3 separate regions of the Homo sapiens genome follow, and all the other regions are linked to region 2. Evidence: promoter capture Hi-C in 16 types of primary human blood cells and fetal thymus (Javierre and others, 2016). All regions are on one chromosome and are shown on one strand. The core of a region is centred on a gene start or on the middle of the fragment in contact, and the rest is flanking DNA. Distances in the headings are between cores, read along the strand shown.

The links. Contacts are between HindIII fragments. The CHiCAGO score rates a contact against its expected background, and 5 or more counts as called.
Region 1: a contact is called between a fragment that was not itself captured here and the fragment with the promoter of MBNL3 in region 2, in 1 of 17 cell types (naive CD8 T cells). The highest score is 5.5, in naive CD8 T cells.
Region 3: a contact is called between a fragment that was not itself captured here and the fragment with the promoter of MBNL3 in region 2, in 2 of 17 cell types (total CD8 T cells and naive CD8 T cells). The highest score is 5.8, in total CD8 T cells.

Annotation. Positions count from the first base shown.
Region 1 is chrX:124,398,605-124,401,304 of GRCh38, forward strand. The region is part of intron 30 of TENM1 (teneurin transmembrane protein 1); the gene reads right to left. Among named protein-coding and RNA genes, the nearest start is that of SH2D1A, 53 kb to the left of the region's middle. The HindIII fragment of the contact is 3,150 bases long and covers 1-2,700 here.
Region 2 is chrX:132,487,692-132,490,391 of GRCh38, forward strand. It overlaps MBNL3 (muscleblind like splicing regulator 3), which reads right to left and starts at 1,347. Exons shown (of 9, transcript NM_001386889.1): 1 at 1,160-1,347. RefSeq lists a silencer at 1,626-2,195. The HindIII fragment of the contact is 7,236 bases long and covers 662-2,700 here.
Region 3 is chrX:123,727,658-123,730,357 of GRCh38, forward strand. All of the region lies in intron 1 of THOC2 (THO complex subunit 2), which reads right to left. Among named protein-coding and RNA genes, the nearest start is that of THOC2, 4.0 kb to the right of the region's middle. The HindIII fragment of the contact is 1,094 bases long and covers 872-1,965 here.

The DNA of each region.
Region 1 (2,700 bases), core at 102-2,601, 8.1 Mb before region 2:
GACATTTATGCAGGATTTTCTTTTTTTCTTTTTTTTTATTTTTTGGTGTATATGTGCTTTATTATTTTAAAATCAACTTTATTTGGATAGTTTACACACAGTAGGAGTCACCAATTTTAAGCGTACAATTTAATGAGTTTTGACAGTCATTGAATCAGGTAACCACTACCACAATCGTGATAGCATTTCCATCACCCCCAAAACTTCTCATTTCCCTTTACGTCAATTTAACATCCCCACCAACTGTTTTGTCCCCCATGCAGGATTTTCAATCATTTGTTTACATAGTGATAGATTTCTAGAAAAGTTTACATGACATCATAATAACCTTTGACACAAAACTGCTTGAGTTAGAAGGAACCCTTCTGTTCACTCTTATCCGACTACCCACTGTAATTTACAATCACATACAACTAGTTGTTTCTAATTCTTTTGAAGAATTTGATTCAATAATATAATGTTTTTTACTCCCAAGACACTCCCTTTACTTTGCCAGCATATAGAACCTTATCAACAGAGGGGATCTTAGGAAATGGGCTTTTGAGCCAGACTGCCTGAATTCAAATCCTGTGATCACTGCTTACTAGCTGTGTGACCTCTCTGTGCCTCAGTTTCTTCATCTGTAAAATGGGAATGATAATGATAAACCCATCTGGTAAGGTGTTATAAATAGTAAATGAGTTAATATGTGGCAGTATACATGGTAAGGCTTCAAGGAATGCTAATTGCTGCTGTTATGGTTAATACTACCACTAATAATATATTGCACCATCCATGTCCCTCTTTTTATAGATGAGAAAAGTGCAAAATTATGGGCATACCAGTTCTTCCTCAAAATCATACTCATTTTTCTCACCCAACTTTGGCTATATTATTTACCTTGGACATTTTTTGCACTATGCTAATTTGCCCTTGCTTAAGTACTTTGCTGTTGACCAATTCATCTGTGTAACCATACAACAGATATTTAAAATTTTTTTATACCAAATCATTAATGCTCATATACAGGTGAAATGGTATATGAAATAATTCTTTCTTTCTAGTTATCTTAGTGAGGTTGATCCAAGATTAACAAAAATAGGCTAGGCACGGTGACTCGTGCCTGAAGTCCCAGCACTTTAGGAGGCTGAGGTGGGCGGATGGCTTGAGTCCAGGAGTTCAAGACCAGCCTGGGCAACATGGCAAGACCCTGTCTTTACAAAGAAACAAAAACAAAAATTAGCCGAGCACGGTGGCATGCGCCTGTAGTCCCAGCTACTCAGGAGACTGAGGTGGGAGATTCGCTTGAGCCCGGGAGTTAGAGGCTGCAGTGAGCCAAGATCGTGCCACTGCATTCCACTCTGGGAGACAAAAAACAAAAAAACAAAAACACAACCAAATATAGCAGGTTCTATGATTTGGAAGCCCCAAGAATTCCTGGACCCCAAAAATCAATACTGCCCAGTAGCCTTGATATAGGAAATCTCCTGTCTCCAGGGGGCTCCTTAGGGGGAAAAGCACTGTTACTTGACTGAAAACTGCAGATATATTTTTAAATAGATTAATCTGATTAATATATCTCCAGTCAGGCTCCTTATCTAAATTTTCACAAAATAAATGCTTCCACCAAACCTGAGGAGAAGGAAGTTAAAATAGTGTCAAGTGAATGAAAATCCAACTCTGAGCACCCTGTAGCTGAGGACCAAGGCAATTTCTCAGAATAGAGGGAAAGGCCAGAGCCCTCTTGGCTGCCCCCACCAATTCCCCATCATTTGTCAGCCTGAGACCCTGTGTTCAACCGAGCTTGTTTCTCCTTCTCAGCTCACATCTGAACACTCACGTTTCATTTAAAAACCAACCTACCCTATTCTCAGTTATGTTTGAGTAGAGGAAAAAAGTAAATTGGGAGAGTTTTAGATAAGTCCTTGCTTCATTTCATTTGTAAACACATAATAATCCTACCTGATTTTATAATTTTGGTCATAAAGTGCTAAGCCCCCTCCATTGTTTTTCTTTTAATAAAGGAGGCTGCAGTTCAGGGATTTTGCTATAACCTTACAACTCAGTCTACAAAATCTTATAAACAGCTCTGGGATCCAAAGCTGGGATACATCTCATATGACAGCATTGTTATCCATGGACATAGCAAGGTACAAACTGGATGTAGTTCCTAAACCAGTATGCTTTTGGTAAATGCCCAATTCTTTTTACAATTGCCTCTATTGTTATCTGCACTCTAATTTCTCTATTGTCCAGGGAAATGTATTTATGGGGACAGATTGATGCAGCAGATAAGCAGATACATGGACTAGATGCAAAAGTGCCTTGCAAGGAAGGAAGATGAGTCAAACACAACTCAGGTTGGAGGGAAATGGATTTTTTAAATAAATGAAATTTCAGGATGTTAATGTGACTTATTTCACTTAATGGAGCTGGTGAAGGATGGCTCAGAGGTAACAAATCCCTTGCCTGCTCAGGCTGAGCAGGGTATCATGTTTCCCAAAAGTTTGCCTCCCTCACCTTAAAAAGGATCCTGACGTTGCATGAAAAAAAATCACTGATTATTCTCCAAAGATAGGTCTATCCTTTTCTGATTTTTTTTTCTTTCCAGCTAAAAGGTCTGGGGGAGGTGTGATCGGCAGCTTTTGGGAACATTTGACGTCTATCATCTTACCAAATGGGCCTTTAAATGAACCTGTCATTTTGTCCTTGAACAATTAG
Region 2 (2,700 bases), core at 97-2,596:
CAAAAGTATCGCACATTAGAAAAAAGTTAAAAATTATTTTAAAAAGTAGTTAAACATTCAGGATTAGATTTTCATGGGCCAAGGAGAAGATGGAAATATAATCAGGAAAAATCCAAGGTGTCTGATAAGCCTCATTGTCTATTTACCTTTCACTGGAGGGGGAAACAAAACAAAACAAAATTCAGATAAATTGTATCAAGCATGGATGTTTAGTCATTCCCACATACCAACAATCTGTTTTCCAAACATTATATCAGTAATCACCCAAACGTTTATTCACTAAAGCAGGGAGTCCGCTTAATAAAAAAAGTACCAATCACTTCAAAATTAAATCTTGCAAGTTTTGTTTTAATTGATTCTTTCCCATGAAGTCTACCCACAAATACGGAGAGGCTGTGGGGATCCCAGCTCAATTTACAAACGATGTAAGAACATCTAGGAGAAAATAACTCCTTTAAAACATATTACTTTAATTAGAGCCACAATTAATTTATCTGTTTTATCTATCATCTAGCTAGCTAGCTAGCTAGCTAGCTATCTAAGAGTGCTCAGAAAAACACACAGTAGGTCTATTACCCTAATTATGAAACCACAACAAAGAATCACTTAAATGTCAACTTTCATTACTCGTCTGGGTTTAATTTCGTTTTCTTACCATAAAAGCTTATTGTGTGAGTGTTAAAAACTAAAGTTCCCTTTTTAATAGTCTCCTAAAATCTACTCTCATGCCCTTCAAACCCCAGTAGTAAAAGCGAGCTGCCCAAACGTGTTGACTCAGGGCAGGAAGAGACAAGGTTCTGCAAGGAAGCTGTGGCACTGCTCACGATATCGCGTGAAAATGGGGAAATTCGTTGTTAAAAAGCATTTGCTGATTATATGCCATGCAAGAAGTTCCTTTAAATTAAAAAGAAGAAAGTAGAAAAAAAGAAAGAAGGAAGGAAGGGGAGGAGGAAGAGAAGAGGAGGAAGAGAAGGAAGAAGAAAAAGGAGGAGGAGGAAAGGAGGAGGAAAATGATCAAAGCTCTAAAATCGCAACAAAGTTGCAGGATGACTTTTCCTCCTATTTGCTATTTTGTAAAATGAAGTTTAAAAGGCATTATTTCCTCGGCGTCCGAGGAAGGCAGCCTCTCTTACAAATCCCAATTCATCTCCAGCCTTACCTTACGCTGCTAGCGCAAACCCAGAGGCTAAGGGGCCCTGCTCTCAGCGGCAGCAGCAGGGGCAGCGGCAGCGACAGCGGCACATGCCATCTGTTAGCGGCAGAAGCAAAAGCAGCGCTGCGCGAGGTGGCCCCGGTGCCGGGAGAGCCTTTAGCAGGGGTGCATACTGAATGCCGCCATTTTAAAGCGAGGTTCCTGAAATCATTAGATATAAGCAAATTAAAGCCCGCCCCACCTCCAGAACTTCAGGGCTGGGACTTGCAACCCGGCTCCAAGTCGGCCGCTCTGGGGTATAAAATGTCAAGTCTACAGACACGCGCACGCTGACTCTCGGACGGAGGCGACGGTTCCCCCTCTCCCTTCGGCCCCCTTGACCCCTTCGTGCTTTTTGCAAGACTCCTTTCGGTTCCAGGGGCCAGAATACTTTCTTTTCTGGGCTCCTCGAGGCCCCTTCCCGGGGCCGGCCGGCGGGCTGTGGGAGGAGGGGACAAGGCCACGGGCCGGCCCTACCCGCTCCTCCCAGGCTCTTGGTTCAGTCCACTCGGAGCACACCTCGGAGCGCCCCAGCTCCCTCGCGGAGGCCGGGCGTGGGGCTCCCGCCCGGGCTCGCAGCTACCATAGCAACCCCGGTCCCAACCCCGCCCGGCCTTTGCCAAAGGCGTGCCCTCCTCCCGGGCCAGTGCCCTCCGCCGGACGCCAGACGTCCCCTCGCGCAGCCCCGCCGACCCCAGGCAGCCCGGGCTGGGGCCGCGCCTCCGTGCGTCCCGCGCCGGACAGACGCGGCACGCGGAGGGAAACGGCGCCAGCGAGGGGCTTTAGGCGCCAAAACGGAAACTCCCGCGAAACTCCGCGGGCCAGCGGAGCGCGGGCGGGCATCCGGAGCGCCGGACTCGGAAGCGGCGCACGCGGCCGCCCGGCCCCGCCCCGCCCGGCCAGGTAGCGCGGCGCCGCCGCCAACCTCACCTGGCTCCGCGCGCCGCTGCGGGACGGGCGGGAATGCGGCCAAGGGCCGCCCCGGCTCCCGCGCCCACCCCGGACTCTCTGGCCTCCGCCTCTCTCTCACTGCTCCCAAAGAGCGCCAAAAAGTCGCGCTGCGGCTCACGCTCGGAGTGCGGGCACTTTCTTCCTGTAGGGCGCTGTTTCGTCGCGAAATATATTCTTTGTGTGGTTCGCTCACTCGTGCCTGGTTCTCCGAGAGCGCAGCGCGGGCTTTATTCTCAGGGGGTGTGGCGCCTCGCCCCCAAACCCAGCAGCCCAGCCCCCGCTGCACAGACCCTTTGTCATTTCATTAGGAAGGGAAAGGGGGACAAATCATAACGCTCAGATTTTACAAAAGCGAAAACAAACGAAGCAGGCACACATCCCCAGAGGCGGGGTTGGGGTAGGGGTGCAAAGTTTCTGGCTCTTCAGGAACTGAAGTGCCAGTGAGAAAGGCAGTGTGGTTCACAGCGGGACGCTCATAGACACTTCCCAGACAGGTGAGGCGAAATGGGTCCTTTCAAAATTGATCTTAGTCGATGAATAAGTCCACTCGCTACAGG
Region 3 (2,700 bases), core at 169-2,668, 8.8 Mb before region 2:
GCTCTCCTGGGCTCAGGCAATCCTTCCTCCTGCCTCAGTTGCCCAAGTAGCTGGGATTACAGGTGTGTGCCACAGTGCACACCACCTTACATGCCACCACGCCAGGCATTCATTTTTTCTACTTTTAAAATAGTTTAGTGCTATTATGGAGATGCTGTCTCAGGTCCCTGAGAATGAGGACAGAATCTACTTTCTGTCAAAAGATGTATGGAAAACTGAATAAAATGTCTGAAGTTCCTTCAAGGACTTAAAAGGTATTTTGTGAATACTTCTTAACATGAGTATACGGCTTTTCATCTTACTTGTTCCCATTTTCCAGTAAAAAGGAAACAGAGTCACAAGCTTAAACTACTTGATTATGCTCACATCTCAAATGTGGCTTTCATATATAGAAGGCTGATGTTCATTTACGCTTCACTTAATTCTTTAAAACAAGACAACAAAAAGGTTAAATGTAGTTAAATAAAGTGCTACCTCTATTATCATTTGTAGAACAGAAACATAACCCACAAAAATGAATACTGGGACAACACAGTTTTATCTTGTAGAAACATGCATTTAAAAGAAAAGGAAACAGGAAATGTTAAAAAAAAAAAAGACAACAGGAGTTGCCGCACTTACAGTAGGAAAAAAGCACAAGTATATTGACAGCACTCACCCTACCTAAACGTTAGAGCATTACAGAATAATTTTTTTTAACAAACAAAGTAGTAGCCTATACAACCTCCTGACATTGCTTCAACATTTTGTGAAGAATGTTTCTCTTCCCAGGAAAACAGACTAAGACTTATACTTAGCTTATGAATACAGGTCGAAATGGGAAATTAAATGCTAAATGAAAACTGAGACATCAAGAAAAGGTTTCAGATAAAGCTTTGGCTGAATTTGGAGCAACTTTGCGAGGAAAAAAGACTCAACCACCAAGACTAAAATTTCTTAGAATGATTATATCCCTTTACCTGGAATCCTCCAAGAAATTCAGATCAGATGGCATGTTCTGAACAACCAAATATACTTAAATAAGTTCTAGAATGTCTAAAATCATGTAGTAGCAGAAGAAGAAAAAGAACAACAATCAAAACATTTGGCAATTAAATTTTAAAACTTTATTGTAACTACCATTAATAAGGTAAGACCTAACAAAACTTTCTAATTGATACCTAAATAAGCTATTCAAACAAACAGATGATATTCAACAAACGTAAGTATTTCAAAATTAGACTAAGTATTAACATGAGGCTAGCATCTTCAGATTAAGAGCTTCGAATATCAATTCTCCATTAAGGTTGCCTGTAACAAAGAAATGCTGAGTTCACTGTGTTAATGATTTCTACCAAAAACAGAATTCTACACTGGATCTACCAGTACATGCAAGTTTATTAGCTTCATCATGGCAAGTTCTACGTCAATATAAAATAATCAAGAAACTAAAACTAATTCCAAAATTAAGTGATTAAATACATATCTTTCAGAATTTGGAAGAGTTTGCATTTAGATATAAGTATTATTGGAAATTACAATTACATTTTGGTAGTCCTCCTTTGCCCTTCTGATCCCTCTTTAAGATCACTTTAAAGGTCACTCTTTAAGAGTTCTATAATTTAGCATTAAAAACATAATTGGTATCTCTGGAAACATAATGGGATATCTAGATATGTGATGGATGGACCATTCAGATAGGCAAAATACAGTTTTACTTTTCTCTCTAATTACCTAATAAAACATTCTTCAAAGTCAAGACCTTCCATTTAATAGACAGTTGTTTTTCATGGCGTACAGTTAAGAATTTGCCCTATCTGAAAGTTATAAAATGCCCCATACATCTCTTATGTTGCTTTCAACACTAGCTGACTACCACCCCCAGAAAAGATTTATGCTGGTAAGAAGTGACAGACAAGAAATGAATTAACAACCTCATGAAATATATCACATTATTTTTAAAAAGATAATTTTCAGTCAAGTTAAAGCTTATCTGCTAATTTATCTTGTTAAAAAGGAAAAATTCACCCAAGGTATAATTTTAAATATTGGTCATATTCTAAACGCCAAATCTATAGCTTCACTAATAATGTGGTGGCACACTACCTTCATTTTTAACATTTCCAGTTGCTGTTTTATATTTCAGAAGCTGTTTTCAGACAAAGGAAAAAGGTTTTTTGTAATATATTTGCACCACCACGTATTCTGCCTAGTAATATGAAAATGCTAACACCTATCTTTAGGAAGACACAAAAACTCCAAAGACATGCTATATGCAACAAAGTTTCATAGAGGGAAAACAGGTCAAATAAACTGAAACTAAGTACTGGATGGTGATGTGTTTAACTATTTAAAATAGCTTATTATGTTACACAATTTTAAATTCTCTTCCTGTAACAGAATGCAATCATAAAACTGACTATACTGATTTGGATCTACTATAATTCAATCCACATTCCACAAGTCATGCAATAACTACATACACGTAAGTTCTAATAACAGGTTTTTTTGCTGTTGTTTTTGGTTTGTTTTTGTTTGGGTTTTTGTTTTTTTTTTTTTTTTAAAGAGTTTCGCTCTTGTTACCCATGCTGGAGTGCAACAGCGCGATCTCCGCTCACCGCAACTTCCGCCTCCCAGATTCAAGCGATTCTCCCGCCTCAGCCTCCTGAGTAGCTGGGATTACAGGCATGTGCCACCACGCTCGGCAAATTTTGTACTTTT